Regions from separate parts of the Homo sapiens genome. Here regions 2, 3, 4, 5 and 6 are each linked to region 1. Evidence: promoter capture Hi-C in 16 types of primary human blood cells and fetal thymus (Javierre and others, 2016). All regions are on one chromosome and are shown on one strand. Each heading gives the region's core, a stretch centred on a gene start or on the middle of the fragment in contact. The rest is flanking DNA. Distances are from core to core; before and after follow the strand shown.

Evidence for each region. Contacts are between HindIII fragments. The CHiCAGO score rates a contact against its expected background, and 5 or more counts as called.
Region 2: a contact is called between a fragment that was not itself captured here and the fragment with the promoter of PPP1R3C in region 1, in 3 of 17 cell types (fetal thymus, endothelial precursors and megakaryocytes). The highest score is 12.5, in fetal thymus.
Region 3: a fragment that was not itself captured here is called in contact with the fragment with the promoter of PPP1R3C in region 1 in 3 of 17 cell types (fetal thymus, endothelial precursors and naive CD4 T cells); the score reaches 9.9 in fetal thymus.
Region 4: a contact is called between a fragment that was not itself captured here and the fragment with the promoter of PPP1R3C in region 1, in 5 of 17 cell types (naive B cells, total CD8 T cells, total B cells and 2 more). The highest score is 7.1, in naive B cells.
Region 5: a contact is called between a fragment that was not itself captured here and the fragment with the promoter of PPP1R3C in region 1, in 2 of 17 cell types (total CD4 T cells and naive CD4 T cells). The highest score is 6.0, in total CD4 T cells.
Region 6: a fragment that was not itself captured here is called in contact with the fragment with the promoter of PPP1R3C in region 1 in 1 of 17 cell types (total CD8 T cells); the score reaches 5.0 in total CD8 T cells.

What each region holds. Positions count from the first base shown.
Region 1 is chr10:91,631,538-91,634,635 of GRCh38, forward strand. PPP1R3C (protein phosphatase 1 regulatory subunit 3C) reads right to left here and starts at 1,534. Exons shown (of 2, transcript NM_005398.7): 1 at 1,419-1,534. The coding sequence starts at 1,432. RefSeq lists enhancers at 1,165-1,666, 1,667-2,166 and a silencer at 1,501-1,640. The HindIII fragment of the contact is 3,050 bases long and covers 508-3,098 here.
Region 2 is chr10:90,873,450-90,876,547 of GRCh38, forward strand. RPP30 (ribonuclease P/MRP subunit p30) reads left to right here. Exons shown (of 11, transcript NM_006413.5): 2 at 1,420-1,475; 3 at 2,109-2,165; 4 at 2,575-2,649. Among named protein-coding and RNA genes, the nearest start is that of RPP30, 3.0 kb to the left of the region's middle. The HindIII fragment of the contact is 2,904 bases long and covers 61-2,964 here.
Region 3 is chr10:90,891,795-90,894,892 of GRCh38, forward strand. RPP30 (ribonuclease P/MRP subunit p30) reads left to right here. Exons shown (of 11, transcript NM_006413.5): 7 at 2,981-3,097. Among named protein-coding and RNA genes, the nearest start is that of RPP30, 21 kb to the left of the region's middle. The HindIII fragment of the contact is 863 bases long and covers 1,166-2,028 here.
Region 4 is chr10:90,908,195-90,911,292 of GRCh38, forward strand. It overlaps a transcript of RPP30 not described here. Among named protein-coding and RNA genes, the nearest start is that of ANKRD1, 11 kb to the right of the region's middle. The HindIII fragment of the contact is 966 bases long and covers 1,201-2,166 here.
Region 5 is chr10:90,994,989-90,998,086 of GRCh38, forward strand. It overlaps LOC124902479 (a long non-coding RNA gene), which reads right to left. Exons shown (of 2, transcript XR_007062238.1): 2 at 2,491-2,840. Among named protein-coding and RNA genes, the nearest start is that of XLOC_008559, 49 kb to the left of the region's middle. The HindIII fragment of the contact is 4,314 bases long and covers 1-3,098 here.
Region 6 is chr10:91,021,299-91,024,396 of GRCh38, forward strand. It overlaps LOC124902479 (a long non-coding RNA gene), which reads right to left and starts at 2,180. Exons shown (of 2, transcript XR_007062238.1): 1 at 2,025-2,180. The HindIII fragment of the contact is 3,179 bases long and covers 1-3,026 here.

The sequences.
Region 1 (3,098 bases), core at 284-2,783:
AATAACATGCAACAGTTTTGAGAGTGAGAAGGCTAGAGAAGAAGTCAAAGAATCATCTTTGCACTTTGATTATCATGCTCTTATTTTTCACAAATAACCACTGAAATACAAGCCAACAATTCATATGCACTTAAAAACTATATAATTGATAATTCACCTAAAGAGATGCCCATGACAAGTCCACATTTAAGTGGAAAAACTGATTACCTGAAAGTTGGAGTGTTTTAAAATATACATTTTATATATACAAACTTATAAATATTGAAAAACTCTATAGGAAATACACCTTTCCTAATAATTTAATAATTATTATTTCTGGGTGATAGGATTATAGATTATCTATTTTCGTTTTTGTTCTTTTTTGGCATTTTCTAATAGACATTTATAAGTAGAAAGACAATAAAACCATTTAAAGTTTTAAACATGACTATGCTCAGCAATATTAAACCAAGAAGCATCTATAAAGAAGACTTTTCTCTGACCTTTAGCCCTCATCATATATTTCCAAGCTTATGGTATTAAGATTTTTTTCCCTATCTTAGCCTTACAAGTAAGAGGTGTGTGTATACTGTACACGACATTTCTCAGTCTGGCTTTAGTAACTCTCCTCACAGCAGCTCTAAACATGTATGCAAGTGGTCATTATCACAAAAGTGTGTAATAACACTCGCAGAATTTACTGTGTTAGCTCTGGGGTTTTTCTGGGAGATCTGCAAACTTAGAACAAACAAATGAAAGCTAAAGCTATATTTGTGGGTCTAATAATAGTTAATAGGCAGGATTTTTAGAGAAGTCTTCTGCTAAGCTATGTCTGGAGAAGCTATTTAAAGTAGTTTTATGGGAGGTTTTTTTTGGTTTTTTTGTTTTTTTTTTTTTACTTTTTGCATTTATAGAAAGACAGTTTTAGTTTGGGTGATTTCCTTGGAACTTTAAGTCCTGGACAAGAGTTAAAAGTAATCGTTTGCTCAAACTCTTGAGATTTTGCTATGGCAAACTGTGATAAGAAGGACGAATGAATGCAAACGTCGTCCTGTAATTTTTTTCCTCCAAGCTAAACCACCTAACCAGCAATGTCAGAGTGCTGTTCTCACCACTTCAGCTGCCCGAGTCTTTGGGACATTTGTGCAGGACCAAAAGAACAGCCGCATCCATGAGAAAATCCTAACTCAAGCTGATTCACGTTAAGATAATTTCTGCTTTAAGATGCTGATTACTAAAATAGGCTCTGCTTAAGAAATAGAGCCAAATTTCTACACCTCCAAGGCCTCTCGGTTGCCAGATTCAACTACGCAGTCAGTCCACTTGTCCTCCCCCTGGGGTGTCCATTTCCAGAGATGATAGAACTGAAACGCCCCCCAACTTCCCCACAGCTGCGCGTTCCCCTGTGTTCCTAGCGCGCAGAGTTGCAGCGAACCTACCTGGTGCAGCTCATTAGGCAGAGAGGCGGCGGACCCTAAAAGCCAGCACCCGCTGCCTGCACAAATTCGAACCACAGCTCCAGGCCTTGCCCCCGCGGCGGTCGCTGGGAGAGACTGAGGGCCCGGCGCCTAGAGGCCGCTTATCTGCTCCCAAGCACGTGACCCGATCCCTGGGACCAATCGCCGGGCCTCGAGCCCCAGGGCGCGACCAACCAGCGCCCAGCTGGGGCGCCAGCCCTCGCCCCGGCAACGTGATCGCCCCGGGGCGAGACGTGCAGAGAGCTATCTGGGCATCGCGGGGAGGTTCTGGGACTCCGCGGCCAGCTGGAACCAGCCGCGTAACGGGAACCCTGGGCTAGGGGCCGGGCAGGCACGTACCGCATGCAGCGGGCGCCGGCCAAGAGAGAGCGCAGCCAGCCTCGCCCAGGCGGGGCGCCAGTGCCTCAGGCTTGGGGCGGCTGTTACTTGGGAATAGCTTTGTGGGTCACTGCGGGTGAATCTGCACACAGAAGATGTGGCTCAAACCGAATGTGTATCGCATTTGAAATGTTTATATCGTTCATTACCCGGTGTATCCGCATTTCTCCCTCACCTTAGCCTGCGCGATCCCAAACTGGCTGCATGCTTTTCGATTAGTATGAGTTCACAGATGCACCACACAGTAGACAGCTGCCGGGAATTACCAACTTATCTAACAAATGTTGTTAGGAAAGCATACGAGCCCCATAAAACACCAAGGTGGCATTTAATTAAAAGACACTTCGTATTTCTGTCTATTCTTCAATTTTCTCCCCTGCGGGGAACACTAAAGCCGGAAGTGAAATGACCCTTTTCACACATACAGCCGGTCAAGAGGCAGCAGTCAACCCAAACCCCTTACTCAATTCTGACGTCCTTTGGCAGTGGTGTGGAAATCAAAATGTTAAAATAAAATTTAAAAAATCACGCCGTATGTTTCATGGGCCTTCTGAGCCACTCACTTTCGCTGAAGTTTCATTATTTTGATTAGTTTGAAGAATTTTTAGACCATCATTTACAACTGTAAAATTAAATGTCTAAGTCAAGTCTAAATTATTTTTATAAAACCCACATCCTAGTTTTGCTCCCCTAATTGAGCTATCCATTAGTCAATTAAAATATACAAAAATTCCTATGTCTTTTAAACAACTGTCAAACAGTGGAATTGTTAAAATTATTAGAGTGAAGAAAAAAATCACACTGAATATCACTGGGAAAGGGACTTCATGCCTGGGTTTTATTTTTGAAATGAAATATCTAACTAATGGCAGGTCTTCTAGCCCCTTTAGCTCAACCAAAACTAGCTGGAAGGTCTTTGGATTGACACTTACTAGCTACACGAATCTAGGCAAGTTCTAACCTCAGTTTCCTCATGTGTAAAACAGAGATAGTAACGTTCTGAAGATGAAGTAAGATGGTGCCAATGAACAGACTCAGCACGATGCCCAGTGCCTGTGTTCCACCCGGGCTAGTTCCCAAGTTTCTACTTGATCTCTCAGCTAGAGTTTTTACTCTATCACCTCAAGGCGCCTGGTGCCTGAGCTAAAATATTGAGAATAGCTGCTGCTTGTTGAGCCTTTACTCTGTGCCAAACACTATGTGCTATCAATTCAATCCTCACAACAACCCTATGTGATATGTCCAATTATTAATCCCATTTTA
Region 2 (3,098 bases), core at 263-2,762, 760 kb before region 1:
GAATAGGAAAGACAGAGCCCTGGTTCTCAGTTTCTGATGTGATACAAGAAACCAATAATAAGCTTCAGAAATATACTGTGTAAATTAAAATACCCTAAAGCCTGATTGGGGAAGTAAGTACTCCTAAGCTGCCAGATGAGGAGTAGTCTAGGAAAAAGTTTTGTGGAGAAACAGATCCTAGTTGACATTTCTGTAGAACGGTAGGGACATTGTTTAGTAGCCAAAAGGATATCCTAAATGGGTATAACAAGGAAGTTTAGAGCAGATTTGGGAGTGTGGTAAAGAAGAATAGGGAGGAGGTGTGGCTGGTTGATTTGACTAACTGGGTGCAAGGTGAAGCCCAAGGTACAGGCATACTTGTGATTTTTTTTTTGTTTTTAAGGGTAACTTTCTTCAGGGAGCCTTTTGTGACCCCTACACCAGGTTTCACTGTGCTATGTACTTCCATAGAATCCTTACTTATAAAAAACATGTATTTATATACAATGACTTGCTTAATTGCCTTATTTGCCTTCGTTCTCCAACAGACTAGGCTGTAAATTTCTTGTGGAGAAGGATTATATTATTTATCCTGTATGCTCAACACCAGTTTAGGGCTTGTCAAGTAATGGATGCTCAGTAAATATTTGAGGGAGGAAGGGAAGAAGGAAGTTGGACAAACTGTTGAGAGTTTGGCATTGATATGTATTTTAATGTTAATATCCTTTCATCCCCATTGGTATTTTTAAAAATTAAAGATGGGAGTCATGATTTAGATTTTTTTTTGGTAGCCCAAATGTCCAGAACAGTGCTAACTGATGAGGATAATAAAGCAAGCCCTTGACCTCAAGGAGCTCCCAGTCTGTCGATGGTGTGCAGCTTAAAATGGGAAGCGGGCAGTGGTGTGAGGGAGTTATCACTCCATTTCTCCTTAGGAAAGGAGTCTCTGAAGGAAGTAGAAGGATAAAAAGCAAAAGAAATGAACGGGAATAAAAGTGACAGTGATAAAGTAGGAACTTGATGGGATAAAAATGAATATAGGGTCATGAAAGAGAATGACATTTGAAAAGGAGAAGCACAAAGTTAAGAGTCTTTAGTATCATTTTAATAATAATTCATAATGGTTAAACAAAGACCTGTGTGCCAGGCACTGTTCTCAAACACCTCATGTGTATTATTTCATTTAAATTTCATGACAGTGTATGAAGAAAGTGTTGTTATTTTCACCATTTGACAGATGAGGAACCTGAAACTTCATGTTAAGTAACTTGTAAGTGGTAGTGCATAGACTTTAAATCAGGCAGACTGACACTAGAGTTCACATTCATAACCACTCCTCAAATGTCCTCCTACTCTTGACATCTAGACTCAGGATGGACCTGTGTTACAGGAAGGAGAGGTTGTTATATTTAACAAAAGTGTTCAATTTTTCTTTTTCAGTTGGCTATTCAGTTGTTGCTATCAATCATATCGTTGACTTTAAGGAAAAGAAACAGGTAAAATAATATTTCTAAAGTTAATAAGTTCATAAATAAGTATTTGTAATTCTGTTTGTATTGGTAATTTGGAAGCTACAGATTAGAATATTTCTTAAATGCACCCCTTTGTGCACTACTACTTTTCTATTTTATATAGAAACAGTCGAGCTGATGCATATTTATACAATGATGATTTTTGTGAGGTAATATGACATAGTGTTCAGGATTCTTAAAGGTGATTTGAAATTAAGTTACTTTTCACTGTTCAAAAAGTGCATTGTTATTGGCTGGACTGTAATCAAAATATTTAGTCCTTTTTATTCTATTGTCATGGGCTTATTAACTACTTTCTCTCTTAAACATTACTAATAAGTATGTATATTTCTCTTTAGGCCAACAACTGTATCCTGTAGATTATTTCAGTCTAAAAATTAGTTTTCATTCTTCCTATTCACTGATGTTTACAGTTGCTTCTCTATTTAGCTTTCTTTTTAAAAATAATTTTTAAAAGTTTTTTTGAATACCAGAAATCACCTTGCTTTCTTTTTAAAAAAAATGCATATTTTTTCTGAGAACACCTCGTAATTTTTCCATTATGCCTTGTGCTATTAATGGATACAATCTGCAGTAACTATTTATCGTTTGTTGTAGGAAATTGAAAAACCAGTAGCTGTTTCTGAACTCTTCACAACTTTGCCAATTGTACAGGTAGGTGTTTTGTTGTTTACGAAGCATAATATCTATTTATTCAGTTAAAAGGTACCTAATTATTGTGCTATTCTCTAGCTTGAGCTGCACCTTACTCTGAGTACCAGTCTTAACGTTTTCCTCAAGGCTCAGCTCTTCAGGAAACATTCTTTTACTATCAATTCAGCATTGCTTTGATGATCTTCTTTCCTGAAGTCCTACAATTTTTAAATTATCTCGTTATGTAGTTTAAGATATATACATCTCTTTCTGTGGCTGTATTGTAAATTCCTAGAGAACAAGGACTGGGTTTTATTGATCTTCACTATCCCTTATAGCCAGTACCTTTTAATGAATACTTTCCACTGGTAAAAAGGAAAATCAATTATTGTCTTTTGTGCTTTTTTGACATCATGTCTTTTTTAAATAGGGAAAATCAAGACCAATTAAAATTTTAACTAGATTAACAATTATTGTCTCGGATCCATCTCACTGCAATGTTTTGGTAAGTTAATTATTTTTCTTCTCTCCTTTTGGCTTTGTGAGTTGTATTGATTAATGTTGAACAATGTTGCATTTTGTCTTCCCCATTTTACATTTTCCCTCGCCCCCGCCAAACCATGACACCTGCTTGCTCTCCTTGTCCTCAGAATTCACACAGTGTAATATGTCTGTTCCACTTACTCATGGCACATGTGTAGTGATACCACAATTAAAGAATCCCTTGGCAACTGTTACTCATTGAACTCACGTGCACCAGACTTAAGGTGGGTGCTGGGGGGTATTGCCATGAATAATAGCACAATCCTTGAACTTATAAAGCTTAAAGTTTAATTGGCAAGGCAAGCACTGAACAAATAATAATTACAAATGTAAGGAATGTTCCAAGGTAGGGAAGTGGTAAATAAAGGATGCTCTGGGAGTATGTAACCTGAGTAAGTTGATATTCAAGCT
Region 3 (3,098 bases), core at 347-2,846, 740 kb before region 1:
TAATAAAAGTGATTATTGGAGGAAGGGATAGGGCAGATAGGATTGGAGATGCAAGTAGTACTTTTTATTGTTTTCTTATGTTGCTTTGTGAGTCATGTGGACAAATTACCTGTCTTAAACACTGAAAGGGTTTCATTCATTTGAATTGAATAAAGAACTAATTTTTATGAAATTAACAGGGAATCAGTATATTGTCCCAGTAATCAGCTCCTTACTTTCTTCTCGTCTTTCTCTAAGGCTTTGCTTAATACTTGGAATTTTAGTACCAATGTATCTTGATTCAACTGTCACACACCTGTCCTTAGTAGCATCTTTATGACCATTATTTTTCATTAGTAAAGAAATGTGATCATCCACCCATGCCAGAACCTTTGGTCAGACATGAGAACAAAAGCTAATCAGGCAGGCACTGTTAGGAAGAGGCTGTTAGGAACAATCATTTGATGAGCTTTAGGCAATTTGCATCAAAATGGTCTTACAGCAAGATCCCAGGTAATGAGTCTGTATTTTATCCATCTAAAAATTTAAAATAAGATGCTATGAAAGAAATATTCACAACCTTCAATAGCACATTATTTTTAATTTTTCTTTTTCAAGAATTCCTATAGCAGTTTTAAAGTGAACTTGATTAATGTACCAAGATGAAAATCAGAACTTTTTCCTTAAAAAATAATTATGCTGATAATATCCTTTTTTTCTCCCCTCCCCCCGCAAAAGTTGTTTTTATTTTGATTTGGTACCCACAAGGGTCTAGAAATTTAGATTCAGTCAATTAGGAATATTTCGAGATCTAAGCATCCAACTCTATATATCATTCACCTCTTTCATTTATTTCCCCTCTTCATCATCCTGTTGCCTTGTATTATCGTTCCACAACTAGAAGGATAAGGAAAAGAAATACAGGTCAGCCTCTTCAGCTAATTAGTAGTTTTGGTAAAATATATAGCCAAGGAGATGGCTGATAATATGGCTAAAAGGGATGTTTTTACTTATCTGTGGTTTTTGGTTAGCCAGGTGCACCGAGGTTCCTTTGATGATGGATCATCTATAATGAACAACGTTATCACAGGACATCTTCTCCATAAGCTGCTATTTATTCACTCAAAATATAAATATATTATACACCTTTTATGTAAAAGGCAGTCTAGCTCTCAAGAAGTGTGCAAGCTTGGCAGAGCCAATGAGATACACGTTCAACTAGGACAGAAATACTATCTTAACAAATGTCATTCCCAGAAATAATCAACACAGGTGAAAGAATTAGAGATGGGGAAAAGTCAAAAAATGAGAGAGGGAAAGGTTGCAGTGTGGAAAATAGCATTTAAATTCTAACCAAACTAGAATCAGACATATAGGAAAATCTAAAATAAAATCTGGGAGCCTTGAAGCCGGAGGAAGAATTAAGGAAATCTGTGTTCGGGAGGGAAAAGCAGAAGGGGCCTTCAAGTACAACTGAATTAAATCAAGATGGACTGCCAGTTCTAGAAAAAGACAAGTTTCTCCATTCCCCGTAAATGCTCAGGAGTAAACCCCAGTAGTCACAGCTGGGCCAGTCCCAACTTATACTCTGGGCAATCGAAACTCATTTGCCAAGCAGAGACTTGGACCATACTGCCTAGAACATGCCTACCATTCTTTCTTTATTCTTTTGAAAGAGTACTGCCACTCAAGTGACTTTTGCAATTGAGAGTCTGATTATCATCTCTATGCTGAAAATCCTTCAGATGTTTTCTCCATTAGGAATAATCCTCATCACCAGCTCTAAAGGCCTGCACAGTTGGCCCTTCCCATCCTCTTTAGCCTGTCTTCCTCATTATTTTTCTCCAGCATTTGACCTTCCCTACGTGCTGCCATGCTGCAACCTTGAAGACTTTTGCATGCTCTGACCTCCCTCTGAAAGTGCACCTTCCTCTACTATTTAACTGCTTAATTTCTTCCTCAACCCTAAACTTCTCCTTGATAGCACTTAACACAGTTGAAGTTTTGTATTTTTGTGTGGTTATTGATCATCTCCCCCACTAAAATGTAAGCTTTTAGAAGGGAGAAACCATCTCAGCTTTTGCACGTAGTGGGCTTAAAACATCTTTTGTGAATGGATGCAGACATTTAGGTGCTCATTAGGAAAGCTGAACAGTATGGTGGTTAATTTCAATATCATTTCCACTCATCTACTTACCTGTGGATCCCTCTGTAGTAAGAGTACATTAAATAAAGAAGTTTCTGTTTCTCATGAAAAAAGCCAAGCTTGTATGGTGAGCTGGGCAAAATCTTCAAGGGCACTTCCATCTTTTTTGCTGTGCGGCTATAAGCCCAGTGAAAAATCAGGGGCTTTATTACTAAAGAAAAAGGAGAGGACAGATATCTGGGCAATTTGCAGGCTTTGCAGTAATGCTTTATAAAGGTATTGTAGTAAGGATTAAATATTATATATAAGACTCTCTTAGCATATAGTCAGCACTCAATTAACTATGGCTGTTATTCTCTCTTCAACATATAGAGAATAAATTACTTACCTGAAAGACCTTCCTGCCCTTGGTTCTTTGGGCTTTTTTCAGCTCTTCATTTCTTTGTCTCTTTGTGCATTCATAGGTCAGATTACTTGGTTTACTATGTTTGTATACAGTTTACTGTAAATGTAGGGAGTACATTTCTGTTTTCCTTTTGATAGTTCATGGAGTAGTAGCCCCTCTCTCACGCCATTGGGACTTTGTTCTTCTTAGCCTCTTCATAATTCCTGTTTATGTAAAGTCAGCTTCCCCACAGCCAAGTTAAACTCTCTTAATCAAGTAGAGCCACGGATTTATTTTCTTCTCCTTGTGGGTGGTGCCATTTGAGTGTTGATCTGTCTTTCATAAAGCTGTACCTTGACATGTAAGGGGTCAGTAGTAGGGAGTGAGGAGGGATGTGAAGAGAGAATCAGTGAAAATGAAGTAGGCCAGTGCATGCTTATCTCTGACAGTTCTCTTTATTTCCTGTGAAGGCGATTGACCGAGGCCTGGCTTTTGAACTTGTCTATAGCCCTGCTATCAAAGACTCCACAATGAGAAGGTATACAATTTCCAGTGCCCTCAATTTGATGCAAATCTGCAAAGGAAAGG
Region 4 (3,098 bases), core at 434-2,933, 720 kb before region 1:
TGTGGTTCATTGTTGGCCGAAACACCATTCTGTGGCACATGACTATGTATTTATTCCTCATTATTCCTTTAATATTCATCTCTTCCAGGAGGGCATGTCATGGACAATCTCTTTTTCTTACCACAGGTCTTAGGACCTGGCCTAGCACCTGGCCAAGAACTACTGGCATACCTCCTTTTATTGTGCTTCAATTTATTGTGCTTTGCAAATACTGAATTTTTTACAAGTTGAAGATTTGTGGCACCTCTGTAACCAGCAAGTCTATTGGTGCCATTTTTTCAACATCATGTGCCTGTTTCCTGTCTCGCTCATGTCACATTTTGGTAATTTTCACAATATTAAAAACTTTTTCATTATTATTATATGTGTTTTGTTGGTTAGTGTTCTTTGATTTTACTATTATAACTGTTTTAGGTAGCCACAAATTGCACTCATATCGGACAGTGAACTTAATCCATGAATGTTGTGTGTGTTCTGACTCCTCCATCGACCAGCTTTCCCCATTTCCTTCCCTCTCTTCAGGCCTCCCCATTCCTTGAAACAAAACAATATTGAAATTAGGCCAATTAATAACCCTACAATGGCCTCTAAGTGTTCAAGTGAAAGGAAGAACCACACATCTCTCTCAATCAAAAGCTAGGAATGATTAAGCTTATTGAGAAAGGCATGTAGAAAGCCAAGATAGGCTGAAAACTATGCCTCTCACTCAAGTTGTGAATGCAAAGGAAAAGTTCTTGAAGGAAATTAAAGGTGCTTCTCCAGTGAACACACAAATGATAAAGCAAAACAGCTCTATTGCTGAATGGAGAAAGTTTTTGTGGTCTGGATAGAACACCAAACCAGTTACAATAATGCCTTAATCCAAAGCCTAATCCAGAGGCCCTAACTCTTCAATGCTATGAATGCTGAGAAGTGAGGAAGCTGCTGAAAACAGTTGGAGAACTGCAGCGGAAGTTGGTTCATAAGATTTGAGGAAAGAAGCCATCTCTGTAACATAAAAGTGCAAGGTGAAGCACAAGTGCTGATAGAAGAAAGAAGCTGCAGCGAGTTATCCAGAAGATCTAGCTAAGATAACTGATTAACATGGCTACACTGAGCAACAGATTTTCAATGTAGATGAAACAGCCTTCTATTGGAAGATGCCATGTAGGACTTTGATAGCTAGAGAGGAGAAGTCAATGCCTGGCTTCAAAGCTTCAAAGCTTTGACTCCCTTGTTAGCTGGTGATTTTAAGTTGAAACCAATGCTCATTGACCATTCTGAAAATCCTAGGGTTGTTAAGAATTATGCTAAATCTACTTTGCCTGTGCTCTATAAATTGTACCACAAATCCTTGATGATAGCACATCTTTTTACATCATAGTTTATTGAATATTTTAAGCCCATCATTGAAACCTACTGTTCAGGAAAAAAAAATATTCCTTTCACAACATTACTGCTAATTGAAAATGCACCTGGTCACCCAAGACTGATGGAGACGTGCATCTGATGAGGATGTACAAGGAGATGAATGTTATTCTCATACCTGCTTACACAACATCCATTCTGTAGCCCATGGATCAAGGAGTCATTTTGAATCAAGTCTTATTAAGAAACACATTTCATAAGGCTATATGCCGTAGATAACGATTCCTTTGATGGATCTGGGCAAAATAAATTCAAAACCTTCTGGAAAGGATTCACCATGCTAGATGCCATTAAGAACATTCGTGGGTCATTGGAGGAGGTAAAAATATCATTAACTGGAATTTGAAAGAAGTTAATTCCAACCTGTGTGAATGACTTGGAGGGGTTCAAGACTTCGGTGGAGTAAGTAACTGTTGATGTGGTGGAAATAGCAAGAAAACTAAAAGTGGAGCCTGAACATGTGACTGAATTGTTGCAATCTTGTCATAAAACTTGAACAGCTGAGAAGTTGCTTCCTATGGATGAGCAAAGGAAGTGGTTTCTTGAGATGGAATCTACTCCTAGTGAAGATGCTGTAAACATTGTTGAAATGACAAAAAAAGGATTTTGAATATTACATCAACTTAGTTAATAAAGCAGTAACAGGGTTTGCGAGGATGTACTCCAATTTTGAAAGATGTTCTATTGATAGTAACATGCTATCAAATAGCATCAGATGCTACAGATAAATCTTTTATGAAAGAGTTAATTGATGTGGTAAGCTTATTGTTGTCTTCTTTCAATAAATTGACACAGCCATCCCAATCTTCATCAACTACCACCCTCATCAGTCAGCAGCCATCCACATGGAGGGAAGACCCTCCGCCATTAAAACGATTATGACTCACTGAAGGCTCAGATGATCATTAGCATTTTTTTTAGCAATAAAGTATTTTTAAGTTAAGGTAGGTACAGTGTTTTTTAGACATCGTGCTATAGCACAATTATTAAACCACAGGATAATGTAAACATAACTTTTGTATGCACTAGAAAACCAAAAAAAATTGTGACTCACTTTATTGTGATATTAGTTTTATTATGGTGGTCTGGAGGTCAAAAATCATGGACCTGTGTGTTCTCTCCTGGGAAGTCTTTGACATTGCCAGTCCCTGTCCACAAGAATTGTTAAATCTCCAGTTAATTTGCATTTTTCTAATGATCAGTGATATTGAGCTTTCTTTTCCAGATGTTTGTTGGCCACATGAATATCTTCTTTTGAGAAGTGTCTGTTCGTGTGCTTTGCCCACTTTTTTGATGGGGTTGTTTTTTCTTGTAAATTTAAGTTCCTTGTAGATTCTGGATGTTAGAGCTTTGTCAGATGGATGGAGTCTGAATGGCAGTTACTTAAAAAGTCAAGAAATAACAGATGCTGGCAAGGTTGCAGAAAAATAGGAACACTTTTACACTGTTGGTGGGAATGTAAATTAGTTCATCCATTGTGGAAAATGGTGTGGTGATTCCTCAAAGATCTAGAACCAGAAATACCATTTGACCTAGCAATCCCATTATTGGGTATGTACCCAAAGGAATATAAATCATTCTACTACAAAGATACATGCATGCATATGTTCATTGCAGCACTATTCACAATTGCAAAGACATGGAACCAACCCAAATGCCCATCAATAATAGACTGGATAAAGAAAATATGG
Region 5 (3,098 bases), core at 275-2,774, 640 kb before region 1:
AACTTTGTGCTCATCCTCTAGAATAAGTATTTTACACCTAAATTTATCTATGTATTAATGTACTAATATGTACATAATACAACATATGTAAAATAAAAAAAATGACTACGTATATGAAAAAGTTTTAAAATCAAAATAAAAAGCATTTGCTTTTGCTAAATTGTTATTAGTTATAATTAATAATATTTTAAAGAGTTAAATGTAGATATTAATGCTTCATTGATTTTAAAATATCTTGATTTAACATTTAATTTGACACTGCTTTAACATAAAGCAATAGGAAGATCTGGGTTTATGTTTGGCTTATTTTGATGCTGGTTTCAGTGGCAATAATTGCCAATAACAAAAAGTTTAATTACCTCACAAAGGCGTGTGAATACAAATAAGAAAAGCAATAGCTGCACTTACTAAGTCATGATGCTTATTTTTTAAAATCCCATTTACCAACTGTACCAACGTTTTTCTTTAAAGTCAGCTATTATATTTCTGTTTCCCTTTATGTCAATCAATTCTTGTGACAAACAATTTGGAATTTGTTGCATTTTTACATATTTAAAAAATGTGTTCAACCCACTAAAACTCTGAAACATTTAGAAGCATTATAGACAGATTAGAAAATTCTGTTTCTAAATTTTTTTGTGTTTTTTTTTTGCAAATATGAAAAAATGCTCAACATCACTAATGATCAGGGAAATATAAATCAAAACCACATTGTGATATCACCTTTCTCCTGCAAGAATAGCTATTAAAAAAAAAAAGATGTTGGCGTGGATGTAGGGAAAAGGGAACACTTCTACACTGCTGGTGGGAATGTAAACTAGTACAACCAATATGGAAAACAGTGTGGAGATTCCTTAAAGAATTAAAAGTAGATCTACCACTTGAATCAGCAATCTCGCTACTGGGTATCTACCCAGAGGAAAAGAAGTCATTATTTGTAAAAGATATTTGCACACACGTCTACAGCAGCACAATTCGCAACTGCAAAAATATGGAACCAGCCCAAATGCCCATCAAGCAACGAATGGTTAAAGAAGTTATGGTGAATACTACTCAGCCATAAAAAGGAACAAATTAATGGCATTCTCAGCGACCTGGATGGAACTGGAGACTATTTTTCTAAATGAAGTAACCCAGGAATGGAAAACCAAACATTGTACGCTCTCACTCGTAAGTGGGAGCTAAGCTATGAGGATGCAAAAGCATATGAATGATACAATGGATTTTGGGGACTTGGGGAAAAGGGTGGGAGGGGGTTGAGGGATAAAATAATACAAATTGGGTGTAGTGTATACTGCTTAGGTGATGGATGCACCACAATCTCACAAATCACCACTAAATGACTTACTCATGTAACCAAACACCACCTGTTCTTTAAAAACCTATGGAAATAAAACATTTTAAGAAATATATGCAAACATGAGGCCTGTGACATCCTTACATTGTTTTGGTGACCAAAAAAAACCACATAATTATGGAAAATGTTTGACATCCCTAACAGCAGGAACTACTTTTGTTAAGTTTCTGTGTCACTTTAGGCAAAATGCTTCCATTCTGTGTACCAGTTTTCCTCATGTGAAAAACAAGAGGGCTGGCAGATGAGTTCTGAATGTCCTACCAGCCCTAAGGTGCTCAGATGCATTCCTAACCTGCCCTAGCAGAGCCCAGCAGAAAACACAGGCTCTTGGGTAGATCCTGTTACATGAAACATTGCACATGCCCATGGTGGAATACTGTGCAGCCATGAAGAAATAAGGACACTCGGTATGTGCTGGTCTGGATGGAGTTCCAACGTATCATTTAAAGAAAACAGCAAAGCAAAGAAGAGTATGTAAAATGGGATCCCTTTTGTATACTTTTTTTTAAAAAAAAGAACAGATGGATAAATGGATATGGAGTTGCTGGTATAAACACTTTTGGGTACAGAGATTTAGTGGTTAACAGTTAAGAATGGTTGACAGTTATGAGAAGAGAAGTTAAGGCATGGAAGCTCGCTCTTAGTCACTCTCTTTTTTCTTTGCACTTTTAAAAAATATTTGAGGCCAGGAGTGATGGCTCTCACCTGTAATCCTAGCACTTTGGGAGGCTGAGGCAGGTGGATCACTTGAGATCAGGAGTTCAAGACCAGCCTGGACAACATGGCAATACCCCATCTCCACTAAAAATACAAAAATTAGCCAGGCATGGTAGCAGGTGCCTGTAATCCCAGCTACTCGGGAGGCCGAGGCAGGAGAATCATTTGAACCCAGGAGGTGGAGGTTGCAGTGGGCCGAGATCATGCCACTGCACTCCAGCCTGGGTGACAGAGTGAGACCTTGTCTCAAAAAAAAAATTTTTTTTGAATGGTGTAACTCAGCATGTATAATACTATATACATATATATGTATATGTATGTTGTATATGTATGCATGTGTATATATATTTCAGATATCATATATACTATATATATGTATATATCAGCAGGAGTTTTCACAACAGGGACACTGAACATCATTTTTTTCTGCTTTATTTTCTTACTTCTACTTTTCTATTTAAAAAACTTGTAAAGAAAAAAGAAGTAAAAGACTAAAGTCCTCATAATATACCTGTATTCATTGGCTAGGACTGCTGTAACAAAGTACTACAAACCGGGGGTCTTAAACAACAAAACCGTATAGTCTCACAGTTCTGGAAGCTAAAAGTCTGAACTCGAAGTGTCAGCAGGGCTGGTTTCTTCTGAGTGCTGTGAAGGGGAATTTGTTCCAGGCCTCCTTCCTTGGCATGGGGATGACCATCTTCTCCCCGTGTCCCTTCCCATCATCTTCCCTCTGTGTGCATCTGTCTCTGTATCCAAATTTCTCCTGTTTAGAAGGACACCAATCACATTGAATTAGGGCCTGTCCTGATGACCTCATTTTAACTTGATTACATCCGTACAGACTCCATCTCCAGATAAGGCTGCATTCTGGGGCACTGGGAGTTAGAACACTAACATATCTTTTATGGAAGGAAACAATTTAACCCACAAGTATACCTAATATGACAAAATTCATAGAAATAGAGAAAATAAATACCTTATTTTTCTGGAGAAGGTAGCATTGGACTTCATTCTTGAAGGA
Region 6 (3,098 bases), core at 187-2,686, 610 kb before region 1:
GTGTGGTCCATGGACCAGCAGCGTGAGCATCACCCAGGAGCTTGCTAGAATGAGAAAAGCAGAATCTCAGATCCTATCCCACATCCACTAAACCAGAATGTGCCTTCCCAGGTGATTTGTCTGCATGTTCAAGTTTGAGAAGGAGAGCTGTTGAAAACATTCAGAAATTATGACATGACTGATACTTTGAGAAGTTCTCTAAGGATCAGACAGCAGAGGAGCAAAACTAGTCTGTCTGGAAGAAATCATCAGTTGATTAGTGAAACATCAATCAGGGATTAATCAAGGATTTGAAAGAGAACAGGAACCTGGCAGCTAGGGAAACAGTGTAAGAGGCTGAATCTAAGAAGCAAGCATAATCTTACAAAAGCAAGATAGACCAGACTTCAACTTTCAGAAGCATAGTCTTTACTGGAAATTCTTTATCCCACTTGCTGATTGCAGGAAACAGTCACTTCCAGCAAGGTAAGGGGTGGTAGGAATGTGGTTGGCAGGAAGTCCCTTTGGGGACTTTGCAGGCAGGAACCTCCCTCTGTGACAGAGGGACATTGCTGTTATCTCAGGCTAGGCTGGCCTCCATACTAGCAGGCCTGGGCTACCTGTGCTTACACCTCTTCCTTCTTCACTCAGCCTCAGCATCACTGTGCCATATGGTCAGGCCTCCAAAATCTGCCTTAGCTGTATTCCTCCGTCGTCTTTCTTTTAAAGGTTGAATTTCATCAGGATTTATTTGAAACTCTTGTTTAAAAGCCTGATTCTTGCCCTCCCAACTCCAAGTCCTCAAGGGACCTGATAGTGAAGGTCCAGGATGGGATCTAGAAAATACATTTGTAATAAGCACCATATGTGATTTTGCTGCAGATGTTTCCAGACTAGATTTGCAGAAGCAGCCTTCCTTCAGTCGCACTCCTTTGCTGCTCAGAGTCTTACCAATTGAGAGGTGAGGATATGGAGACTCTCAGATACATGCTGGATCCTTTGTAATATCTACTCCCTCTCTAACTTCTCCTTTGCAGCGTCAGTTTTCCAGACTATGTTCTTCTTCCCTACTCCTTCATCACTTTTTCCCTCTGCCCTCACTGCCTTCCAGTGACCTTCAGACAGGTACAGGCTACCCATCCACAAATATTCAGCCCTCACCAACTCTCACCCACTCTAAATTCCTCTAACATGGTCTCTTTCTTGCTATCTCCAATTCCACTTGTGGAATTCTCCTCTGGATTCCAGCCAGCTTGTACTCTTCTCTTCTACAGTTTCTCCAGGTCTCCAATTACTTCTTTGAGGGCATATTAAAAAGCCTCTTTATGCTTCTCCTCCTTGACCGCACAGCTGCATCTGCCACTGCCAATCACCCTCTTCTCTGAGCACCCTAGCACTGCTGGGATGGGCATGTTCAAGGCTGCATCACACTTTGCCTTTCGACAGAATCAATGAGCCTGGCTCCTGTACTGTAGATAGATCTCAGGATTCAGCAGGTGTTCCTTCTCACTGCCTCAGGTGCTTCCTTTAATCCTCTGGAAATTGTAATACTGCTGGGGAAGCCTAAAAGCTAAACTATCTTCACAATCGACTGTATTAGGACTGTTTGAAGATCTGATCTTACAGTCAGGACTGGCTACATGGTTTGCAAGGGCCAGTGCAAAAAGAAAATGTGGACCCTTTGTTTAAAAGGTCTTAAGAAATTTCCAGATGATGGTAGCAGAACTTAAACCAGGGGGAGGGCTTTTTATTTTTAAGTGCAGAGCCTGTGTGACTTCGTAGATCACATGCTCAGGAAGCTGGCTCTGCTGATGGTTGACCCAGCCTGTTAGCTTGGTGACCCTCAGGACCAGATAAGTTAGTGAGAACATGGTTAAAATTCAGATAAACTCATAGCTCACATTCCCAATATACCAGCTAGTTTTCCCAGTGCAACACCCTCCAGGGTCACAGTCTTCACTTCTCACTTCTGTAGGTTCCAACATGGGCCTCGTCATCACCAGAAGGACAGGGGAGCATGAGAATGACACAGCACAGCTACTCACCAAAAGGATGGGGAAGAAACAGCCCAACAGGGCAGGTCAGAAGCATCATCATCGTTGTTTTCATAATTGGAGTACCGAATAGTATAAAACTCAATCCTAAATGCTGTGCTCTAGCTCTTCCCCATTTCCAGCCCCTAAACCCCACAAGACCAGACTGGAGACAGAAACTGGAATCCAAGCAGCAACAAGCCTCCCTGCTTTCTTTGGGGCAGAGCCAAAAAGAGATAAAGAACGTGTTGTATTAGGCAGCAGTAAACAGGCAAGGGACAAGCAGGCCTTTAATAAAACAGACCTTTATTGGGGCTAAAATGGCCCAGGGCTGACCCTACCCTAAATCCTGGCAGTGTCCAACGACAGGAATTCAGAGGAACAAAAACGCTGGCATTGCCTGCTGCATCCCATGCATACATAACAGAAAGCACTGCAGAACCTCACAAGCAAGGAATACATAAATGCCATTATCCAGTCTTTCAGCCAAAACTTATTTTTTAGTCTGGACGACTATGCTATTCTGCTTTCTCTGCCTCCAATTTCTGTCCTGTGACTCACAGGGAGGGCTTTGGGGAAATGAAATATCCCAAGACCTAAAATAGGTCCTTCTCCCTCCCTCTAATATCAGGATGAGTTTCCTAAGGCATTTGTTTCTTCCTTAATTAACCAGGCATGAATGATAATATTGCCTGGGTTGAAGAACTCATCTCTGTCACTGGTAAATATAAATAACGAGCCCTGTTCATAGAAAAGCGTGCCAGAATTTCATTGATTAACATCCCGTGCCACAGCCTCTCTTTGAAATTAAAAACACTTTCAATGACACTGAAAAGACATTGCACAAAAAAAAATATTTCTAAGACAAGGTTGTCATTAAAGCATGCCAGAAATAGAACTGTTTTTATTTAACCATCCTCACTCCTCCCCGCCCCCTCCCTTGCTGGCTGTGAGGCTGCACGCAGTTAAATCACAAGGATTACAGAAAGTAATTTCATCCATTTGAATTTTAGAAGCTTCAGAAGCAGACCTATGGATAATGCTTAGTTGATGCGTCTCTTTGCCCCCATGGCAAGTGATAATTAA